Regions from separate parts of the Homo sapiens genome. Here all the other regions are linked to region 1. The links are contacts of gene promoters, found by promoter capture Hi-C in blood cells and fetal thymus (Javierre and others, 2016). All regions are on one chromosome and are shown on one strand. The core of a region is centred on a gene start or on the middle of the fragment in contact, and the rest is flanking DNA. Distances in the headings are between cores, read along the strand shown.

Evidence for each region. Contacts are between HindIII fragments. The CHiCAGO score rates a contact against its expected background, and 5 or more counts as called.
Region 2: a fragment that was not itself captured here is called in contact with the fragment with the promoter of SAMD13 in region 1 in 2 of 17 cell types (monocytes and fetal thymus); the score reaches 6.3 in monocytes.
Region 3: a fragment that was not itself captured here is called in contact with the fragment with the promoter of SAMD13 in region 1 in 1 of 17 cell types (M2 macrophages); the score reaches 5.7 in M2 macrophages.
Region 4: a contact is called between a fragment that was not itself captured here and the fragment with the promoter of SAMD13 in region 1, in 2 of 17 cell types (M2 macrophages and M0 macrophages). The highest score is 7.6, in M2 macrophages.
Region 5: a fragment that was not itself captured here is called in contact with the fragment with the promoter of SAMD13 in region 1 in 1 of 17 cell types (M1 macrophages); the score reaches 5.1 in M1 macrophages.

What each region holds. Positions count from the first base shown.
Region 1 is chr1:84,300,424-84,303,054 of GRCh38, forward strand. SAMD13 (sterile alpha motif domain containing 13) reads left to right here and starts at 1,285. Exons shown (of 4, transcript NM_001134663.2): 1 at 1,285-1,378. The HindIII fragment of the contact is 6,789 bases long and covers 1-2,290 here.
Region 2 is chr1:84,940,212-84,942,842 of GRCh38, forward strand. MCOLN2 (mucolipin TRP cation channel 2) reads right to left here. Exons shown (of 14, transcript NM_153259.4): 8 at 668-780. Among named protein-coding and RNA genes, the nearest start is that of LPAR3, 48 kb to the left of the region's middle. The HindIII fragment of the contact is 4,398 bases long and covers 1-2,631 here.
Region 3 is chr1:84,922,813-84,925,443 of GRCh38, forward strand. No RefSeq gene overlaps it. Among named protein-coding and RNA genes, the nearest start is that of LPAR3, 31 kb to the left of the region's middle. The HindIII fragment of the contact is 458 bases long and covers 1,086-1,543 here.
Region 4 is chr1:84,888,694-84,891,324 of GRCh38, forward strand. The region is part of intron 1 of LPAR3 (lysophosphatidic acid receptor 3); the gene reads right to left. Among named protein-coding and RNA genes, the nearest start is that of LPAR3, 3.2 kb to the right of the region's middle. The HindIII fragment of the contact is 1,023 bases long and covers 830-1,852 here.
Region 5 is chr1:84,855,145-84,857,775 of GRCh38, forward strand. The region is part of intron 2 of LPAR3 (lysophosphatidic acid receptor 3); the gene reads right to left. Among named protein-coding and RNA genes, the nearest start is that of LPAR3, 37 kb to the right of the region's middle. The HindIII fragment of the contact is 217 bases long and covers 1,239-1,455 here.

The DNA.
Region 1 (2,631 bases), core at 35-2,534:
TCCAAATTTAGATCAAAGGTAATCTCCTAATGTCCTAAAAGATTATTTTTAAAAAGGGAAGCAGGCAGCTTTTTCCTCAGATTCTACCTGAATTCTACAGGATATTACAGCAAGTGATAACTTTTTCCAGGATCTTTCTGGGGAACCTGTGTTCTGTGCCCTGTCTTGAGTGGTTTTGTTGACCATCTTGACCTAAAAGTGTCCAAATGTTGATTGATGTTTATTTCAATGAAGAGGCAACCATGTATGTTTTCTGTGTATGTGCAGAACATTAATGGGATGAGATTATTCTCCTGGAAAAGTGGTTTAAGCCAAGCAAGGGAACTGTGAGAATGACCAGGGTAACTTAAACAAAAGATCTTGCCCAGCCTCTCTGCTCCACCTCCCAGTTTTCTGATTTGGTATTTAGGATGATGGCGGGAGAGACTATGAATTTTGGGGTGGGCATAATGTCTTTCTATTCATATGTAACTAATATAGTACCGGGTACTCATAGATTGTAAGTGTTGGTTAAATTTCTTGAATTATGCTTTTTGTCCAACTGGGATAAACAGTTAAAATTAAACCTCCCAGAACTAATTGTTTTCGTTTTGTAGAATAAGGTTTTGTTTGTTTCAGTTTGAATTTTTGCTGGCTTCATTTGGCAGGATAAATGCCAAAATAAAAGAATGTGGGCGTTTTCAGGAGATCTGGTCATCTATTTTGCATCCTTTCCGAAATATGTTACTTCCTGCATAATGAAGTAAAAGGATTTGCTGCTGGGCAGTGCTTTCCTTATTCTCACAAAGAGATTACTTAAAAGCCAGCCCTGGGAACTTTGTCCATGAATCTCTATTAGGAAAAAAAGAGTAACATGGGACTGCAGCTTCCGAGTGTTCTCTGGTTATAGCCCATAAGCACTGGCTTCTCACTCTTATTTTTCCCTCTGGGGAGAAAAGGAAATAGTTTGAAACATGACATTCATGCTCAGAACAACAGCTAAGACCTATCATGCAGCAACAATGAAGGGGAGGGAGAAAATAAGAAGCTATTGAGACAGCTTGTTTTTCTTTGTACAAGACAGGTGCAGGGAGAATTCTGCAGGTTTTGGACTCCTTACTCATTTCTTGCACTAATTGTGCTGAAGGTAGTTAGCAAAAGTGAACAGGCACACTGTAGCTTTAAAAAGTCAGCCATGAACCAGAAGGCAGTTGGTGCAGCTTGTGTGTGATTCCTAACGTCATGTTGGCTGAGAGCCAGCCTGGTTTTATTTCACTGTGTCAAATTGTACCTCCTTATTGAATTCCTTTGCCAGCCTACTTTGTGAAAGAAAACATTGGGGTTTCTTTGGCTGTTCTTGATAAGCCTATAAAAAATGATATTTTTTAGTTGCTTATAGGTAGGTTTTCTTTTTACTCTTCCACAGAAAAGAAAATAATAGTAATAATAATAAGACAATGTAGTGTGGTGTTGCAGAGTATCATTGTGAGTGTTTTGTTTTGTTTTCTGAGATGCTTAGAAAATGGTGAATGTGTAACAGTTTCCAACTGAAGTGAAATCATATTCTGTTAGCATGGAGCAGCAGCACTATCTTCCTGTCTACTCTCTAACGGTGTGTGAATGTATGCTAATATCTATATATATATATTAAATGTTGGATTTCTCTATCAATGATCTAAGTGGTTTGCAGCTGGAAGTTTGTGTGTATGTGTGTGTTTCAGGAGTGAAAATTATCCCACACTTACAGTGTTATTTGTTAATCATCTACTTCTCTAACAGTGATAAAATCTTGCGAATATACTAAATGATGCACTTGCCATGTCAGAGTAATCCCTAGAGAAGGAGTGCCGAAGTATAAAGTGATTTGAGTGGAAATGTATTTAATTTATGGCTTCAGCTGAATAAGAGCAAACACGTTTCGGGACTGTTTCTTCCTTTTTTTTTTTTTTTTTTCTTAAAGCAGTTTTGTTCGTAGCTTTTTCATTTTGCTAATTGCATATTAATTGTGGAAGGCTTTTAATTTTCCACAGCCCTCATCCTACTAAACAAAAAGACAGAGTGATGGATGCTACAATATCTCCTTAAATGTTTTGATGATTTTTCATAAATCTAATGAGTTACCTACTCTTTCTTACACATACACACACACACACACACACACACACACACACACACCAGCACCACCTTTCTGTGCTAAGGGCTATCTGGCATTTTTTGTGAGCTTCCTGCTTTACCACAGCATGGCCATCTCACAGACGGGTTTTTGAGGCTTTCGTTGAGAATGTGAGGTAGGGGAATACTTGCTGACAAAAGCTTTAAGTGTCCTTCTGCATTGCAATGAAAAAATCTAGGAGCAAGGGGGAGTGGACAAAAAAAAAACCAAACACAATAAGAAAAAACAAATCAAAGCCCATAATGGGAGGGGGGCAGGAAAAGGGGGATTGTTTTTCTCTACTTTGACTCATTTATGAGTTGCAGTGTCTTAAGTGAGAGCTAGGCACCCAGAAGAAGCTGTGCCAGTTCACACAGCACTTGTTTTCAACGAGGATTCAATTTCATTTGCAAATGCTTATTGTCAAGGCAGGGAGTGCCAGTACAGATGAAAGCACCCCAATCCGTCTCCTCCAGTTCTTTAGGTTTAATCACATCTCT
Region 2 (2,631 bases), core at 68-2,567, 640 kb after region 1:
TATTTACAAAGGACATTGACAAAGGTCAGGATTAGGCAAAATCAAATGCAGACTACGTCCCTGCTCCACAAATGGTACTCTGTGGACTTCCAATTTCCCCTGACCCCAGTGTGCATTTGTACACACGCCACAGCCAGAATAAGATATGTGGGGAGCGGAAGTATATATTCATAAGAGCCCTGAGGGTAAAAAGGCAAAATGAAACTCAGGGGAGAATTTTAAAACTATTTTAAAAACAGAATAAAGTATTTTATGCTTCATTATAATCCATTTACCATGCCTCCCTGTCAAAATGAACTCTGATTTGAAGACAAAAGATGAAACCCACACATGCTATTACTCTGTTCTTCAGATCACTCCTGAATTGAAGAGGGATTTGTTATTCTGGAAACATTCAAAAGCCTGAGAGTTCACCACTGTGCATCTGTACATATCAGCTCAGTTTTAAGCAGGATAATTATCTGATCCCACTTGACATACTCAGAGCCTTTACTCACTTCCTACACCTCAGGCTGATGAATGCCTCATAGCGGGCAACTACTCAAAGGAATCTGATTTAGTCAAAGGTCTCCAAAAAAGGCAGGTGCACAATATCGGTGGTCCACTGCTTGGGCAAACTGAGGGCGCAGGCCAAGAGGGCAGGAAGAGAATGCGAACACACTCTTACCTTCCGTAACCTTAGAGCAAGAACAATGGATCTTGTACACAGAATAAGAGATGCCAAGCAAATCACAATGACAAATGCATCAAACACCAGGACATACTGAGCATTTTTCTGAGCTGAGGAATAAAACAGAATTCAAATGTTAAACACACCTTACCGGAGAATAATTTCCAAACAAAATGGCAGTGTGAAAAGAAGTTCAAACAATAAATGTTTTGTCTATTGTTAAAACAAAATGGTAAATATCAGAAACAAATCACACCGCATTCATTCAGAAGTACATATGTAAGGCAAAACATTCCCTGATATAAAGCTATACATTTAAAAACATGTGAGCTGGGCCAGGCACGGTGGCTCACGCCTGTAATCCCAGCACTTTGGGAGGCTGAGGTGGGCGGATCACGAGGTCAGGAGATCAAGACCATCCTGGCTAACACGGTGAAACCCCGTCTGTACTAAAAATACAAAAAAATTAGCCAGGTGTGGTGGCAGGCGCCTGTAGTCCCAGCTACTTGGGAGGCTGAGGCAGAAGAATGGCATGAAGCCGGGAGGCAGAGTTTGCAGTGAGCCGAGATCGTGCCACTGCGCTCCAGCCTGGGCAACAGAGCGAGATTCTGTCTCAAAACAAAAAACAAAAAACAAAAACAAAAGCAAAAACTATGTGAGCTGCTAATAAATTCACTCAAATTTATATATAAATATTTACTGTAGAATAGAATTCAACAGAAAGTGATCCATTTGGGCTCCATTCAAAAAAAGGCAAAACTGCTGACCTACTCTGAGTTCTTTCACATAAAAGCAGAGACATCAAGTTCACCATTAATAAGAGAACAAACAAATTAAAACACCACCACTCAGAATCCCCACTTCTGCTTCTCAACCTCACTGTGCACTTTCCCAGGACATAGTGCCAATCTTATAAGCCTTCTCTGTATGTAGAGAAAATTACTTCTTGGAACAGAAGCAAGGAGGGGAGTGGTAATCAGATTTTTGGTTTGGAGCACACAGCAGCAAGAAGAATGTATGGGAAGGAGATGAATCTAACCTTAGTTTCTCTCAGACTTCACGGTAGTGTCTCCAATCCCAGCCCAGCTCTCTTCTGCCTGACCCCCACCTTCTTCACCCTACAGCCACACTGATCTTCCTTCTTTCCTGCTCTCACCTCAGGGACTTTGCACATGCTGATCTGTCTGCCTGGAACAGCACTTCTCCCACATGCATGGCTCAGCTTATTTATTTTCAGCCTCAAGTTCCAAATGAAAAATCTCCCATCTCAGAAAAGAATTCCTTAAATTCTCATCTCTATTAGCCCTCTCCTATATACTTTCATGGTTCTTGGTTACTACACACACCCAGAGCTCCTTTACTTTCCTCTGCACAACAGACACTGACCTTTCATTACATCTGCAAAGGCAGCACAGCATGGAGCACAGAGACAGTGTAGAATGGGAAAGAACATGGTCTCTGGAGCCCGACAGCCTGGCTCTGAATCTCAGCTCTGTACTCAGAAGCTGTAGAGCCTTGAGGAAGTTGCTTAACCCCTGTGCCTCAGTTTCCTCCTCTGAAAAGTGGGTAGAATTAAAAAATACCTACATCATAGGGCTATTGTGAAAATTATGCAAGTTCATATACAAAGAGCCCATGAAACAGCCCCAGGAAAATAATAATAGCAAACACTTACAGTGGTTACTATTTTATCATTAAGTGTCCATCTTCCCCATCAAGTGACAGGCTCTCTGAAGCAGGGCCCATAGGTAGTTGCTACGGTTTGAGTTACTTGTCTCCTCCAAAACTCATTTGAAATTTAATCCCCAATGTGACAGTATTGAGAGGGAGGGCCTTTAAAAGGTGATTGGGTCATGAGGTCTCTGCCCTCATAAATGGATTAATCCACTCATAGATTTATGGGTTATCAAGGGAATGGCTCTAGTGGCTTTTTAAGAAGAGGAAGAGAGACTTGAGCTAGT
Region 3 (2,631 bases), core at 65-2,564, 620 kb after region 1:
AGAGGGCGACTGGCTACCCCTAGATCAAAAGGCTGGGCTATTGTGCTTTTCATAAACCCATGATTCCAAGCGTGGTCTTCCACTGGATCAGTGTACCCTTTTTACAATTGTTGGAGTGTAGGTCCTCAGCAGGAGTGGGGGACAGTGCCTCGAATCGCACGAAGAGCTTTTCCTAACTACCCTCTCTCACTCTTTTGCATTCACCACTTTGAGTCAGCAATGGGTTGAGAAGGAAGTGGGCCTGAATTTTATACATTCTGACAAGTTTGGTTAAGGGGGTAGTCCTAGTAGAGGACTGAGGGTCTCACCCAGGGTGAAGGACTGAGGCTTTGTGACAGCTTGTGCACCTCCTGGACCTTTTCTCTTCCATCAGGACTGACAGCTGTGCCCCAGCCATTTAGGCTGCTTCTCCTTGCTGCTCCTCTATGGCTAGGTGTGAGCTTCTTAGGGCTGAACTGATCATTGCCTCCAGGACAGGACTGGATGGGGGACTTTTGCACACTTAAAGTTCTAACTAGAACAAAGTCCACCAGAAGTGTGTGGTGAGTGCATTATAAAATAAAAATCTTCCTGGCTGGCCCAGATGAACAGATTTGTACATTTGTAGACCATGTTAGTAAGACATGTTTTTTGAAGAGCTAATAGTCATTGAGCACTTAGGAGTCACGCCCTATTCTATGCACTTTACGTTTGACTCATTCAATCCTCATAATCCCATTTTATGGATGAGGAAATCTATGCATGGCATGACCTGTCCAAGGAGACTCAGGTAGCAGTAGGAAGAGGACAGCTGAGGCAGACAGGTTGCAGAAGCAAAGTCGTGTCTGCATTATTCCATGGTCCCATGGAAACTATTGCAAACATGTTAGAGAATCAAAGGGAAATAACAGCTCAGGAATGAATTCAATACCAGGCTCTGCATAAATTATGTGACTTAAGTGCCAGTCTTGGTTGAGGTTTATCATCACTTAGAGGAAGAAAGTAACTTGTTCAGGGCCTTAAAGTTAGGTTAAGCTGGAATTTTAACTCAAGTCTGTCTAGATGGCTCTTATGCCCACACTCTCTCCTACCAGCTCAAGTGAAAAAGCTTTAAGATGTTGTATATGGTTTTGACTGTGTCACCACAAGCCAAGGAGTTAAATTCAAGGGTTGGAGATCCCAGAATGAAACCAGCAGGCAGAAAGAATGTGTCTCCTAACTTTCACAGGGAACCCTCTAAGTGGAGGCCTATGATAAGAGAGAAAATGATTTATCCCAGATGCATCTATTAGCAGAATTATGAGACAACATTGTTCAATAAAATCCAAATAACAATACAGTTGATAAAGTGACAATTGTTTAACATTATTAAAAAGGGAGAAAACAATGTTTCTATAGATGTGAGCTAACCCTGAAAAACATTTTTCTTTCTAAAACTGTTTTGTCCAGCTGGAGGGAAAATAAATAAAAGAAAACATGAAAGCCAATAGAAGAATAATATGAGCATGAAAACCCATCATTAATCTTCTATTCAAATGGCAGTCACAGCTGCAGAACAAATGAAAGCTTTTTTTTTTTTTTTTTTTTGAGATGGAGTCTCACTTTGTCACCCAGACTAGAGTGCAGTGGCCGGATCTTGGCTCGCTGCAACCTCCGCCTCCCGGATTCAAGCGATTCTCCTGCCTCAGCCTCCTGAGTATCTGGGACTACAGGCGCCTGCCACCACACCCAGCTAATTTTTGTATTTTTAGTAGATACAGGGTTTCACCATGTTAATAGCAATTCTTGGGTTGGGCGTGGTGGCTCACGCCTATAATCCCAACACTTTGGCAGGCCAAGGCGGGCGTACACGAGGTCAGGAGATCAAGACCATCCTGGCCAATATGGTGAAACCCTATCTCTACTAAAAAAATACAAAAAATTAGCCAGGTGTGGCGGTGCATGTCTGTAGTCCCAGCTACTCAGGAGGCTGAGGCAGGGGACTCGCTTGAACCTGGGGGGCAAAGGATGCAGTGAGCCAAGATCATGACACTGCACTCTAGCCTGGCAACAGGGCAAGACTCTGTTTAAAAAAAAAAAAAAAGAGAGAAAGAAAAAAAATAGCAGTTCTTTTCAGAGACAAAACTAAGTATATGACAATATACTCAGAAGTTAACAAGTGGTCCAATTACGTATCTGATTCTTGGGTCAGGCAAATGACCCCAGAACCACCAGTTTAATGGTGTCTTAGTTTAAAAATCAAACATAACTCTTCACATATCTTGTAAAAAAGAAAGTTTAAAATAATTTTAGCAAAGTACTCTGTGTGTAGACATGAGTCATCTACTCTCTTATATACTTTAATGGTATTAACTGCATGATTTTCCCTGCCTATAGTTGGTGCAGGCATATGAAGATGGGGTCAGAGCAAGGAGGGGGAAGGTGACATGAGAAGGAAAATTGGGTAGGGGCTTGTGGGGAGGGCGACTGAGGCCAAGGAGAAAGAGGAAGAGCCCTGGAAGGAGGGTCCTGCTTAATTCAAATTCTCCTCTTCACCAATAACTTTAAATAGTTGGCCACTGAGATAGCTCAGGTATGAAATAAGTCTATGCATGAAGTGATCTTCATCTCTCAAGCTATCATCATAAATATTTATTGAATAACTTCTATATC
Region 4 (2,631 bases), core at 91-2,590, 590 kb after region 1:
TTGGAAGGCCTTTGGACCAAATAGTGCACTTATGGAGGGGCTAATGTGCCCTCCAACCCAGCCCTGCCACCTGCCAAGCCATCCCTTGATAACTGGTCAATCTGCACATGGGTGAGTCAAGGCCAGGGCTAGTAGAAGCTCCAGCTTAATGTCCCAGGGAACAATGTAGACACAGGACTAGCTGATGAGTAATTAGAGGGGTTGATGAACATCCTCAGGAAGGGGTGGGGCAGGCTGTGCTGGGCAGGTTGCTTTCCACAGTGACACCCAGTCTGGCCCAGCCTGAGGTGTACAAATGATTCACATCTGAAGAGGGGTGACAGAATCATGGGAGTAGGGCAGTATCAGGGGTCATGGGCAAGGGAGGAGTTCAAGGTTGTAGATACACAGGACAAGAGGCCAGCCAAGGAAGAGGAATAAAGAGGAGGACATAAGACTGGGGGTGATGAAGAGAGGGGTGGGTATAACCCAGGATGTCAGAACCTTCCCCTCAATGGTACTAAATCCCCTCCCCCACCCTCCAGCTGGCTTGCCAGGACAGGTAGAGAGCAACAAATATCTTTCAGACTGAATTAAGTAATTAGCTTAATTTGGGGGTGGGGGAGCAATGCCTTTGGTCAGTTTAGAACTTTGCAGAGTAAACTAGAGACCCAAGTCAGCAAGAAGGCACAGGGGAGTGAGGATGGTATAGGTGGACCCAATACATTGTCCAACATTGCCATCAGCACCCTCCTCCTGACCTGTGGGATGGGTGGTGGCCAGCTGTTTGTGTTTGTCCACTAAGAACTGAGATGCGCAGACAGTACAGGTAATTCCAACACGAAATTAAAGCTTCTTTGGAACTTTGCCCTATGCCTTCGATCATGTAGTGTTGGGTAACCTCAGTCCTGAAATTTAACTTCCTCTCATATTCCCCACAGAGCAGTTTCTCAACCTTTGATGCTATTTCCTCCTCGAAGTCCAGTATGATGTCAGAGGACGGGAGAGAGGAATATGGAAGAACTGCAGCAGTGCCCCCTTAGCACTCAAAACATGCTTGTGGAGATACTGCCAACCCCCAATAGCCAGAGCTGAGTGGGCCTGCCTGGGGTGGCCCACATCTGGATGTCCTGCCTCTTTAATTCCAATGTTTATGCACTCTTCACAGGGTACAAAGCTCTTTCACGTACATAAGTTAATGGAACTCATTAACAATCCATGTAGACAGGTAGAAAAGTAATTATTATCCCCACTATATAAATGAAAAAAACTTAAACATGACAATCTATTCAGGGTCACAAGAACTCACAAAAGTGGGACTAGGATTCAAAGACAGAACCCTGTGCTCCAAGTACCTCTAGTCCACCGTTTGTAAAAGCACAAAGTCTCTGCACTTATGCAGATAGCTCCCCAGCCCCATCACCACCTCTGCCATCCACAGCAGGACTGAGTTCCAGGTGACTCCTCCACAAATACAGAATCCAGGATGAGGAACAAAGGATCATCAAGGCCGGAAAGGGGGAGGCTCAGTACCTGCAGGAGGAATGACGAAGGGAGGAACAAAAGGCCCATGGCCAGGAAAAGAGAAAGCAAGTAAGAAAAGTGTGTATAACATCTCTAAGTCATCTAAGGCTTAGAAATCTTTGCACTTTTACCAGAATATACATTTGCACCCATGTTTACACAAGTGTTAATACTTAAATTTTTATCTAGGAGGAAAAGAGGGCAACCAGCATTTAAGGAGTACTTCCTGTATATGAGAGACCATGCTCAGTGCTTTCTCTTTTAATCTTGGGAGATGGATATAATCTTCATTTTTACAGATGAGGAAATTAAGACTTAGAGAGGTGAAGCTATGTGCCCAAGGTCACAAAGCTTGGACTGGAACAAAAGCTGGTCTGACTGCAAAGCCTTGGTCTTCCATTTATACTGCATTAATAATGCCTTGGGCCTGGTCTCTGCCATCTAGAATCCTGCAAACAGACTTAACCACTCTGTTGGGTATAATCACAGGCCAGAAAGCATTTGAACTAATGTATACTCCAAGGAGAATGGCTAATGGGTAATCTGAGGTACAGTAATTCCCATTTCAGTTATAGTGATTCCCCTTGCCCCAGCCCAAAGAAATAAGAGGCGGGTCTTAAGTTATCACGCACTGCTGCTCCTCAGCAGCAGGCTGAGAAACTTGGGGGAGAAGCAGCCAGCCTTAGGCATGTGTGTATAAGTGATGTTGAGAGTGTGTGTCTGGGTGCTGCCTGGCTACAATGCTGTGTGTGCATTTCTTCCACTGTGCACGTGTGTTTCTGAAAAATGAGATGGAGAGTTAACATGCTGTAGTTTCTTAAACAGATTCCGGTGAACACACATGAAAAACAATCTCATACTTTAATGTTTTAAATTCAGTCTCCATTCATAGAAAACATATGCAGGCCTGTTCTAACAAATATCTTGCAGAACAGCAAGATATCTAAAATAGGTCTGATCTGATAAAAAAAAAAAGAGTGGTAGTTGATAAATGCAATTGAAAGGTTTAGACAAGAGGAGTGTCATATGTAATTAAATCAAAACCTCAAAGTTTCAAATTCTAAAGACAAAGAAAAAATTTTTGCCAAAATGACCTATTTTCTTAGTTATATGATAGTGACAATCAAT
Region 5 (2,631 bases), core at 97-2,596, 550 kb after region 1:
CCAGCAAACACCCTTTACTCCCAGTTCCCACCCAACATGTTTGCCATAGATACACAATGAACATAGTAGTCCCCAGCTGAAATTTTCGAAGTACAATGTTAACATGGAATTTGATAAAATTCTACCATTGGCCAGCACACACCATACTATTCCAGATGTTGAATTAGCCCAGTGATATGACGCCTGAGTCACAGACGATGACCACATTTCTCCTTTGGCAGAAATCAAAGCCCTAAGAGAGGGTGTTCCTGAGTTCTGGAACATGAAACCTTCCAGGAGGCTGGGTGTTGGCAGGAGGGTTGGATGTAGTTGGGTACTGGAACCTCTCCCTATACCTTCTTTTCAAAGAGGTCAAATTTGAGAAATGTTTCTCCACCTTGCACTCAGAAAATATTCAATAATTGTTTGTTTCAGCTTAAGAGGAAGGTTTCAGTTTTCTAAAAAGAAGAAAAGCCAGAAGTTCTGAAGAAGGGGGCATGAGAGGGGAATAAAAGAAGCTGAGTGCATTTGGTGTAATGGAACTGAAGGGGTCTGGACCAGAGGAAATGGAAGAAGTAAGAGGGCAGGGCAGTGGTTACATTGGAAACAAGAACACTGATTTGGGAAAAGCACTTCTAAACTGACTGCCAAGGGAGGTGTCTGAAACAGTGGCGTGGGGGGAAAAGAAAGAACCAAGAGCCAGACTTGAGGTAACAAATGGCTACATATGGCAGAGACAGAAGAAAGAAGACAGACTCCTGGAAATGTGGTGTTGGAAGAGGTGTCAAGATGGCATTTGAACAAGTGGGATGGAGTGCCATATGAGGGATTTTCTTTTTTAATTTGAAGCTGTCTTCCTTCCAGCATCAGACACTGAGGTCATCTCAGTCCCCACGTTCCCCGTCAGAACAGGAAGGGATGTGTCAAACAGCAGCGTAGGGGCAGCAACTGAGTGGCAACTGCATTTTTGCACCCACCGATTGACGGCCTGCCCTGAAAACAATGCCTCCCTCCCATAGGCCTCTGTAGCAATGCCATGAAGCACACAGGAAAATCATCTGTGACAAAGGTGCTCCTGGGACTAGCCATTTCAAGACAAAAGTACGAACACCCCCGGACTCAATGTACTGAGTACTGGTGCCTGGATGGCTTGACTCTGAAAAGAATCACCCTCCTTCTGATATGACTCTCTGCACAGCAACAAGAGAGCCCCTGTGTGCCAACAATCTGTTCATTTCACTCAGCATTTCTTAAGGCAAAGCTTTAACTGTTTTCTTTTTTTCTATTTTAACAGATATTTGATTACTAAGGCATGCAGGCAGTAAACATTGAAAGCAGGCTTCTGTGTTGCAGAAGCAACTACAAGGCCACAGAAGCTGAAAACAAATGTTTCAGAATTCCTCACGAACTTAGGCACATGTACTTTTTTTTTCTCTCTCTCTCTTTTTTAATGGAGTAAGGACAGTTCATCGATGAAGCTTATGAATAATACCAAAAGGCCTGTGTTTTGGTCCCAACTCTTTTCAGTCACAGGGCAAACTTTCCAATCCTAGCAAAGGTGATAATAGCAGCTGACGAACTAGCTACTCTCGAAGGATTTGTTAGCAAGAGGGGGACAGTTTCTTATGAGGACCATCCTATAATAGAGCTCTATACACAAGATGTTGGTGCTGTATCACAGGACTCTTGTCAAGCTAATGCTTTGTGGCCAGGGTCTCATTTATAATGTTTTATTCATAAATGTTGCAAAAGTGAAATGAATTATTAATGGAAAGATCATCTGTCAGAGACAGGAATCATTAACAGAATTTCGTAGGGGAGAGGGTGGTTTATAGGGACTAGCAATGTAAGCACAGAGCTTTTCAGTTCTGTGGTGACCATGTGTTCAGACTGTCCTGGGTCTCCAGTAACAGAGCTGGTACCATTTGCCATCTGTCAAGGCAGCCTCTGCAAAGCACACCCGGTCAGCTTCCTCTTGGCTACTTGTCCATTTTATAAAATCTGCCATCATGATGGCACCAACAGTAGGCTTCTAGTCCCTGTGTCCAGGTTACTTGGTGATAGAACTGGACATAAAAGGGCATTCTGCTTGAATACAGGGCATGGCTCTTTAGAATCAAACTAAGGTCTAAGAGTAGCTAATATTTACTTAGTACTTACTATGTACCAAACATTATGCTAGGTGCTTTATGTGTATTAACTCATTGAATCCTCAACACCTCACCATGCCAAAGATACTATTATCCCTTTCTTACAGATGAAAAAACTAAGGCACAGACAGGTGAGATGAATTGCTCAAGGTCACACAACTTGGAATTGACAAAGCTAGGATTTAAATCCAGTTCCCCCCGCCGACTCCAAAGCCCCTATTCTTACCAATGATTTTAATAAGCATAAAGTTTGAAGAGTATAGAGCTGTCATTTTCCAGGAGATGTTTTCATAGCTGTCACTAGCATGCTGCAAAACATTTGGATCAAGGGCGAGCTAAATGTTGAAAGAGCATGTGACTTTACAGAAATGAACTTTATAGAAACCAAGGGAGATACAAGTTATAAACTTCATGACTTGGGTCCAATCGTTCCAGCCCCCTCACTTCCAAGAGACTATTAACTGACTCTGAAAAGTAGAGTATGGAGCCAGTCTCCTGGGGT